Regions from separate parts of the Homo sapiens genome. Here region 2 is linked to region 1. Evidence: promoter capture Hi-C in 16 types of primary human blood cells and fetal thymus (Javierre and others, 2016). All regions are on one chromosome and are shown on one strand. The core of a region is centred on a gene start or on the middle of the fragment in contact, and the rest is flanking DNA. Distances in the headings are between cores, read along the strand shown.

What was found. Contacts are between HindIII fragments. The CHiCAGO score rates a contact against its expected background, and 5 or more counts as called.
Region 2: the fragment with the promoter of MORC2 here is called in contact with the fragment with the promoter of PLA2G3 in region 1 in 1 of 17 cell types (endothelial precursors); the score reaches 5.0 in endothelial precursors.

What each region holds. Positions count from the first base shown.
Region 1 is chr22:31,138,668-31,143,049 of GRCh38, reverse strand. It overlaps PLA2G3 (phospholipase A2 group III), which reads left to right and starts at 2,542. Exons shown (of 7, transcript NM_015715.5): 1 at 2,542-3,209; 2 at 4,251-4,382. The coding sequence starts at 2,696. RefSeq lists enhancers at 1,920-2,479, 2,480-3,038. The HindIII fragment of the contact is 15,707 bases long and covers 1,025-4,382 here.
Region 2 is chr22:30,967,524-30,971,905 of GRCh38, reverse strand. MORC2 (MORC family CW-type zinc finger 2) reads left to right here and starts at 3,132. Exons shown (of 26, transcript NM_001303256.3): 1 at 3,132-4,084. The coding sequence starts at 4,017. It overlaps TUG1 (taurine up-regulated 1), which reads right to left and starts at 2,641. Exons shown (of 3, transcript NM_001396518.1): 1 at 127-2,641. The coding sequence starts at 2,549. The coding sequence ends at 2,088. RefSeq lists a silencer at 2,121-2,370 and an enhancer at 2,401-2,730. The HindIII fragment of the contact is 3,441 bases long and covers 488-3,928 here.

The sequences.
Region 1 (4,382 bases), core at 1,293-3,792:
CTTCCTCACATGCCAGGGGAAGTCGAAGCTGGCTTCTCTCTGGATCTGCTGGGTGAGCAAGTCACTCCTTTTCTTGGGCCTTACTCCATACCTCTATGGGACTATGGGATGAGAAGCCCCACCCTGCCTGTCTCCCTAGGGAGAGGCAGGGGTAGTGAGCTTCAGGTGAAGTCATGTCTGGGAAAACATGAATGGGAAAGGGCAGGGCACACGGGGTTTGGGGGTTTGTGTATGGGGAAGGATGGTGAGAGACAGGGATAGACGATCACACAGGGAAGAAGGAGAGGCCCTGCCCCTCCTTCTCTCATGAACCCCCACCCCTACTCCCCACTGGCACCCACTATGCACCCTGCCTCACCCAGACAGGTGGAGGGCCAGAGAAAAGCCTCAGACCCTCTTCCGTCTGCAGGACCCAGGCCTTCCTGTCTCGCTGGTTTGGCCCCTCTGCTCCAGGGCCTCTGAGGGACACCCTGGTGGAAGGCAGGACTCTGAGCCTGTCTTGTGGCTGACTGACTTGTTTTTGGGTGGAGTCTGGACAGAAAGCTCAGTGACACCCTCCCTCGAGGCCTGGGCAAGCCCCAGCCTGATGTTCTTTGAGACCCAGACTGGAAAAGACCTCAAAGTTCAACTCCACTGTACTTCTCACTGTACAGTGGGGGAAACTGAGTCCCAGAAAGGGACAGGGACAAGCCTGGAGTGACCCAGGCAGGTAGTGTCCTGGCCACTGTTCCCACAGTTGCCATCTAGCCCGAGCTCTCAGATATCACAGATGCTGTGGCCCCAAAATCTTGGGACTTGCTTTCTCCTGAGTAAACTGCTTCCTGGCCAGGGGTATCCTGAGGCTTTAGTGATGGTGTTTTGGGTGCCAGGAACTGTGCTGGGAATCTTACCCAACATCCTGTGGAGTGACTACTGTGATTATGCCCATGATACAGATGAGGAAACTAAGACTCAGAGAAGTTAAGATTTCCAAGCCTAGGGTCTGTGTGGAAACCTAAGCTGGACCTGTCTGACCTCGAAAGCTTGGCTCCTCGTATCCTACCTCCCAGCCTCCCCAGGTGATGGGCAGGGAAGGGCTCAGCAATGTGGAAAAGGGGGCAGAGGTGGGTGGCAGTTCCTATGATGGGAGGAAGTCTCAGCATGATGATTTTTCAAACATCACAACTCTTCACAGAAGGACTCACCTTTGTTCAGCTACATCCTTGCCCTTGGGGACCCCAGGTCTACCTCCTCTGCCACCACTCGCTGTATTCCACACCCCCTTTCTCAACCTCTGGCAAGAAGGCGCTTGGTCCCTGGACTAGCCCTACCCTCTTTCCCTTCTCTTCATTGTTCCCAGCTATGATGCTTTGAGCCACAGGCCCAGGCTGGTTCTGAAGCTACAGAGATGGACCTGCCCACCCTGCAGCCCCCTTCCCCCTCTGCCACACAGTGAGCTCTCCTTCCCCAGCTCTGCCCCTGGCTTTACCTCACTGGGGCTCATCCCCTGGAAGAGACTCAGATGGAGCCTGGGGCAGGGGGAGGCTGGAGAAGCAGCAGGCTAATGGGCAGATGGAAGACAGACAAGTCACTGTCCTGGCCAGCCCTGACTCCCATCCAGATCCCCAAGCGCTGCATTCCCATCCTCTAAGCCCTCCCCAGCTGGAGCCTGTCACCTGAGGTTTTCCCACCCTCACTGAGCCTCAGTTTCTTCATCTGCACTATGGGTGTAAGCACCCTGGCCTCACTAGATGGTTGGAAGCTGGGCTTTGGGATCCAGGAACAATACCTGGGTATAGCCCCTTCCTGATGGAGAGATTCCTGTCTCATGAGGCACACATGATGCCTGCTGTGTCCCCCCAGGTGGCCAGGGATGGAGGTGGCCACAGACATACACCCTGGGCCACTCTCTGCCACTCTAGGGACCATAGTTCTTTCAAATCCAGAGCATCAGCCCTGCCCTGTGTGGCTCTCAAGGCCTGTTCCCGCTGCGTCTCCCCCAGTTATCAGACCAGGAGGGTTGCTGCAAGGCCAGGCCCATGCTTGGAGTCCTAGGAAGCGGGGAGCCCTGGGGCTCTGTCCCCTGAGTATGCCGAGAGCCTTTCTAAGAACCAGGACTTGGCAGGGGAGCACCCCAGGTGGCACTCCCTTTCCCAGAAGCCTTGGGAACTCCCAGGGTGGTAGCTTCAGAGCCCCAGCCCTTCCTTCACCCAGCCCTGGCAGAGGCCCATGGCCCCCTGCCAGCCTGATGGAGGTGGATGTGGCAGCCACCGCTGTGGTAAGGGTGAGAAGGGTGGGTTCTAAGGGACTCCTCCAAGCTCCTGAACCCTTTTCCTTCCCTTCAAGGAGATGTGAAAGCCCCAGCCTGGTCCCCATCCCACAGCTTAGGGCTTTGGCTCCCATAGTCCCAATCTAGGCAGGGCTGGCAGCAGGTGACTGGATGGTGCTGAGAAGGCAGGCAGAATGGGGGCGTGGGCCCTGGCAAGTGCACTCCTCAGCCAATCAGCGTCCTGCCCGGCTGGTGGATTCGGTTACAAGCCCAAGATCACCCCATACTCCAGCCTCTTTCCTCCTCCTCCCGCAGCTCCATTCATTGGTCCCGCCGCACCGGGCCTGCTGGGCTCCGCTTCCGTTCCACTGCTCAGCTGCCGCCTGGTGGGGCCACCAAGGGCAGGCATCCCAGGGGCTTTGTCTGACTGGACTGGGCCAGTGCAGAATGGGGGTTCAGGCAGGGCTGTTTGGGATGCTGGGCTTCCTGGGGGTGGCCCTGGGGGGCTCCCCTGCCCTCCGCTGGTACAGGACCTCCTGCCACTTGACCAAGGCCGTCCCTGGCAACCCACTGGGGTACCTGAGCTTCCTGGCCAAGGATGCTCAGGGACTGGCCCTGATCCATGCCCGCTGGGATGCGCATAGGAGGCTGCAGTCATGTAGCTGGGAGGATGAGCCGGAGCTCACCGCAGCCTACGGTGCTCTCTGTGCTCATGAGACTGCCTGGGGCTCCTTCATCCACACCCCCGGACCCGAGCTGCAGAGAGCACTGGCCACTCTTCAGAGTCAGTGGGAGGCATGCCGAGCGCTTGAGGAGAGTCCAGCAGGGGCCAGGAAGAAGCGAGCAGCAGGGCAGAGTGGAGTCCCTGGTGGAGGGCACCAGCGAGAGAAGAGAGGATGGACCATGCCTGGCACACTGTGGTGTGGAGTTGGAGATTCTGCTGGGAACTCCTCGGAGCTGGGTGAGCCATGAGGGGTGTGTGGGCTGGGGGGTCCGATCGGGGAAGCAAGGTTTCTTCAGCCCCAGCCCTTACTCTCCTAGGCTGTGTGTCCCTGGGGGAGTGACTTGACCATGGTGAACCTCAATTTCCTTATCTGTAAAGTGGGGGCAATCACGAATCTCATCATGGGGTGCTTAAATGAGGTCACGGTTGGGGAAAGTCTTATTCAAACCTGGGAGTCCTCATTAAATGCCATCCGAGGGACTGGGCAGGCTGGGGGAGGATCCAGGGTCAACTGAGCCAAAAAGCCATTACCCAGGAGGAGGCTTTGTGGGCACGGGGTGCCCAGTGGAATGGATGCTGAGACGAAAGGCCTGGGTTCAAATCCCAACTCAGCACATACAAGCTGAGCAAGTCACTTCCCCTCTCTGGACTTATTTCCTCACCTGTAAAATGAAGGTGATACCTCCCTTTCAGGGCTGGCTGTGAACCTGGATGTGGGAAGTGCCAGGCATGTGGGAAATGCTTAGTAAAGAGTGCTATTTTTTAGATGGTAATAAACATAGATGAATTTCTTGCACTATCAGTACAGATGTCTGTGCGTTTGTGTGCAGGGTTGGGGGAGGGCTTGGCACCTGAGTCAGAGTAGGTTGGCATCCTGGCGACACCTCCTTGTGCCAGTGAGAAAGGTTGCACCCTGCCTGTTTGCCATTCCATCATACACACATTCATAATTTTGGAGTTTTATTTGGGGCGTGGGCTTGGGAACTCTGGAGGCAGACTCCAATTCCCCTGAGGAAGACCTTTCCATGTATTTATGGGTGGGCTACCTGGCATTTAGAGTTGCCCAACAGAGGCTGCAGCTTGGCTTCTCTTTTCCAGCTTTGAAACTCTGAGAGTCCCACAGAAGGGAGAGTGACTGGTCTGAGGACCCTCATGGCGTTTGTGTCAGGGCTGGGGTGAGAACCAGGTCTCTGCCCTCTTCCTACCAGGGGGGCATAGCTGGTGCATGATGCCTAGGACCCTGCTGAGTTGGTGCCCTCTCCCCTCCCCTCCCTGCAGGGGTCTTCCAGGGACCTGATCTCTGTTGCCGGGAACATGACCGCTGCCCACAGAACATCTCACCCTTGCAGTACAACTATGGCATCCGAAACTACCGATTCCACACCATCTCCCACTGTGACTGTGACACCA
Region 2 (4,382 bases), core at 1,883-4,382, 170 kb after region 1:
GATACTGAGAAAATGGCAGTTTTGACAGATGAAAAGCCACAGAGCAGCAGTTCCAAAGTAGAATGAGAGTATGAACAAAAGTGCAGAGATGGTAAAGGATAAGGCATTTTGGAAAATGGCAAGTACCATAATTCACTTTGGATGGAGCATCCTCAGTTTGCACTGAGGGTCTGGACAGAAACTCAGGTCTTCTAATTCCCAGTAACAGTGCTGGTGGTAGTGCTTGCTCAGTCGTTGTCTCTTTTCTCACAGCAAGGTCAACAGTCCCAAAATTCAAAAATAAAAAAAAATCTACCTCCAGTGTTCCTGCCGCATCGTGACAAGCTCTTTCGGGTTCCAGGTCCAGGTCTTGAAAATCTGGAAATCTGGAGTCCATGGCTGTGGCTACACTGAAAGTTATCTGCTCCAACTATTGCAGAACACTGTAGTGAAATCTTTTCAACCTCCAATCCTGGACATCTCATGTTTTGCCACAGAATTTCAAGCTTTGAGTTCCAGTTGTTTTTTTTCCCTCCTTTCTGCTGAGGAAAGCATCTTATCACCACAGTCTTAAGTCTTTTGAGGTACATCCGGATTTAATTACAAAAGAGCAAAAAGACCAACACTTTTTTTTCTCCAAGTCATTTCTCTGGAAGTGAGATTATCTGTCTCTGCCCTTTAGGAAAAGGGAATAGTCAATTGATTTTTTCAGACATTTGAATGAAATAGCATAACTGGCTAACATCTAATCAGACAAAATACACTTAAATGTGTTTGTGTTCACTTGCTTAGGGCTGTACCACTTGGTGAGCACCACTCCACAAAACGAAAATGTTTGAAATCCAATTGTTCAAACATTTTTATAGTGTTTGTTGGATAATGGCCTGAAATTTGATAAAAGCAGCTGACAACTAACAAAGAAGCAAAAACTGGCATCTTGGACATCCTAGTATTACACTTGCAAGCAATTAGAACACAAGGAGGGCCAAGGAAAAAGTTTAGCTTTGAATCACTTCCAAATCTACTGATTTTGAGGTTCCGCAGTAGTTCTAACAAAACTTTTCAGACAATGTTAACTTTCGATTAAGAAAGAAAAAAACCCCAAACATCTTCAGGAATTCCATGCCAGGTTCAGTCTCTTCCAGTGAGCCCGCTTGCTAAAAGTCCACGTGCACCATTAATTAGCTGGGCTGGCAGCACCATGTAAAAAGAAGCCTATTCACCACCAACCACACAGCCTAGACATGTAAAGTAGGATCAAGTAATGGATGACAACCATGGTCGTGGAATATGGTCAATGAGAGTCAGAAAAGTACAGGCACCAGTACAAGCAGCAGATAACAGAGTTGACGGGCCAAAGGATAAAATAGGCTTATTTAAATAGGATGCTACAGAACACATCCACTCCTAATTGTAGCTGCTTTACACTGGGTGCCATTGTACCATATGCATCAGCCACCCTTCAGGCACCCCATGGTGAAAGAAAAGGATTCAGAATAGAAGCCAAGCAGGGGACTGTTGTTAACCCCGAATATCCATTATGCATAGAAACAGCTCACATATCCCAGGGACTCAAACAGGGCTTCAAAATGGTTGTGAAGGGTCCCAAATGACATCTAGGCCTCAGTTTCCTCTCTGTAGCATGAAGAAATTGTGATTCTTAACTCTTCTGGGTCACAGCCCCCTTGGAAAACTTGCTAGCGATGGATCATCATTCCCCTAAAACGCACATTCCCACAAATTCCCATCATTCCCCCAAACCGCACATTCCCACAATTTCAGGAAGTTTGGGGATCCCCAACTCCAATCCAAGGTTCCCAGGTTCAAAACCCAAGGATTGGGGAACTGCTAAGTTTTCTTACAACTCAAAAAAAATTATAAACAATAACCATCCTTTACGTACACCCACGCTTTATAGTTTACAAAGCGATTTCAACCCCACACACATTGATAGGCAGAGGAGGAAACTGAGGCGCAGACAAATTACAGAGTGACTCGCCTAAGGTCACTCCGCCAACTGGTGGCTAGGCCCGGAAGAAAACCCAGCTCTTCCGACTCCGGAGCTCGTCTCCCCACCCCGGGGCTGCCGCCAGAGCTCCCGCCCCTCACTAAGGCGGCATAAGGAGGAAAAGGCAAAGTAGAAATCCCACAACCAACCATCCTCCGGCCCCCTCCTGCCCCCCCAACTGGGTCCTTGCAGGCCCCGAAGGGTGGCGCCAGGCCTCCAAGCCGGCCCCGGCCACCCCCGCCTCCCCGGCCGCTCCAAATCCCGCGGCCGCTGCCGCCGCCGCCTCCCCCGGAGCGGGGCGGAGCAGCTGCCCGCCGCCGCCGACCACCCGGACGACTCCTCGTCGAATCGCAAACGCATAGGCCGCCGCCCGAGTTCTGCGTACGAGAAGAAAGACGCGGCGCGAGCGCCAACGGCCACCGGGCGCGCGCCGCGGCGGCCGGGCCTGCGCCCCAAGAGCTGGATGCCAGAGCAGGAGAAAGAGCCGCCAACCGATCGCTCGATCGACCGCACGCCCGTTCCTTCGCCCTACCAGACCCGGGAGGGGGGGAGGGCGCGCCAGGGCTTCTTCGATTTAGGGGCCTGACTCCCCGGCGACGAGACAAGATGGCTCCTCCGGTCCGCACCGCAGCTACCGTCCCGGCTGCGTCGCTCGGCCCGCCCCCGGTACTGTTTCTTTAAATGGCGGAGAGGGTCAGGAAAGCAGGAAGAGAGGCGCACGCTGTCACGTGACAGGGGCGGGACCGGCCAACCAAGATCCGGTCACATGGGGACACGCAGCCCGCCAATCAGGAGGCTGTACATCAGGGCGGGGGCGGGAGGAGCTGCAGCTTTGTGATTGGCTGAATGCTCCGCGGAGGCCTCGGGGGCTTGGGGCGTCGGGGAGTGTGCGAGGTGGCCGGGGCTGTGTGCACTATCGGAGACAAAGCGGTGGCTGTGGTGTCTGTGACGGCGGCGGCAGAGCAGCTCTAAACGCCGAATTTCGTGTTGCTGAATCCTGTCACCATCTCAACTAGCGCGGCGCGCGGGCGGCGCGCGGGCGGCGGCGGAGGCAGCGGCGGCGGCGGCGGAGGCGGCAGCAGCACATGGTTCCAAGAGCGCTCTGCGGCTGTTGGGTTCCAATTCCGCGGGGAGGGACAAAGGCAGTTGTGAGATCCGGGTAGTGCCCGGTCAGGTGGTGCGCTCGCCACTGCCCTCGATCCGGTCCTTGGAAGCCGGGAGTAGCTCCTCTTCGTGGGGAGGCGGCCACGGGACCGAGGCCCGGGAAGGGCCTGGGAGGCTGAGGCTGTTGTCTGAGGGACGTGGGGGCGGGGCGCGGCCTGCCCGAGGTGCTGTGGGCGGGTCATTTGTGAGGTGTTTATGTGGGCCAAGTGTGAGGTAATCTGACCACCACCCTGAACTGGGTTTGGTCCGGCTTTGAAAAAAGAAATCGTGAGTGCCTAGGAGCTTTTTCACTTGGGAGGTGGTGAAGCTGCAACTTGCGCCATATAACACTCCGTCGACATCTTGGTCTCCGGTCTTGGGCCTGTTTAAGAATCCTGGCATCACGTGTGGCGAAGACATGGCTGATCAGTTTTCTGACAGAAGTGGGTAAATTTCCGCGTTGGTAAATTTCCTGACAGGAAATTTCGGGGAACCAAAAAAGGCTGGAAGAACATGAAGATGGAGCAGTCATAAACCACCCACTCAAGGACCATCTCCTTCAGGACCATCCACACGAGACTCAGATTGTCTGAATTGAGCTATCGCAACTTAATGCTAAAAGCTCCTTAAAGCTACAGATTTATGACATAGTTCCTTCCAAAATATTACATCATAAATCATTGAGAAGATTAAAAAAAAACACTTGAAGAAATTGTAGTTTTAAACATCTCTGCATATATTTTGGATAGCTACTAGGTTACTTTAACTGTCATTAAGGAGCACAGACTTACTGAAGCTTTACTGGACAGAATCCTGGGAAATCGATATCATTATAAGGTTATATTTCCCAGTTAGCGGGTGAAGGGCTGGAGACCTTATTGCAGTCATGGCTTTCACAAATTACAGCAGTCTGAATCGAGCTCAGCTAACCTTTGAATATCTGCACACAAATTCGTAAGTATCCTCTAGGTGCCACTGAGGTAACCAGTAACTCGTTCCTTGATATTATATGGAAATCGTTTCCCCAGAAAATTTTGCTTTTTCACTTTTTGAGATGTATCCCACTGGAGTGAAATGTGTCACTGGATATCTTGAGCTCTGTATTGAAGAACTGAGATCAGTGAAATACTTGTTGCTAATCCAGAAGAATCTGATTTTTGTTTATTGGATCAAAATTTTCTAAATGCAAACTTTAGTTATTTGAAGTCAATATGTTGAGTTGTTTCATTCAAGTGTTTATAGGAATCCAACA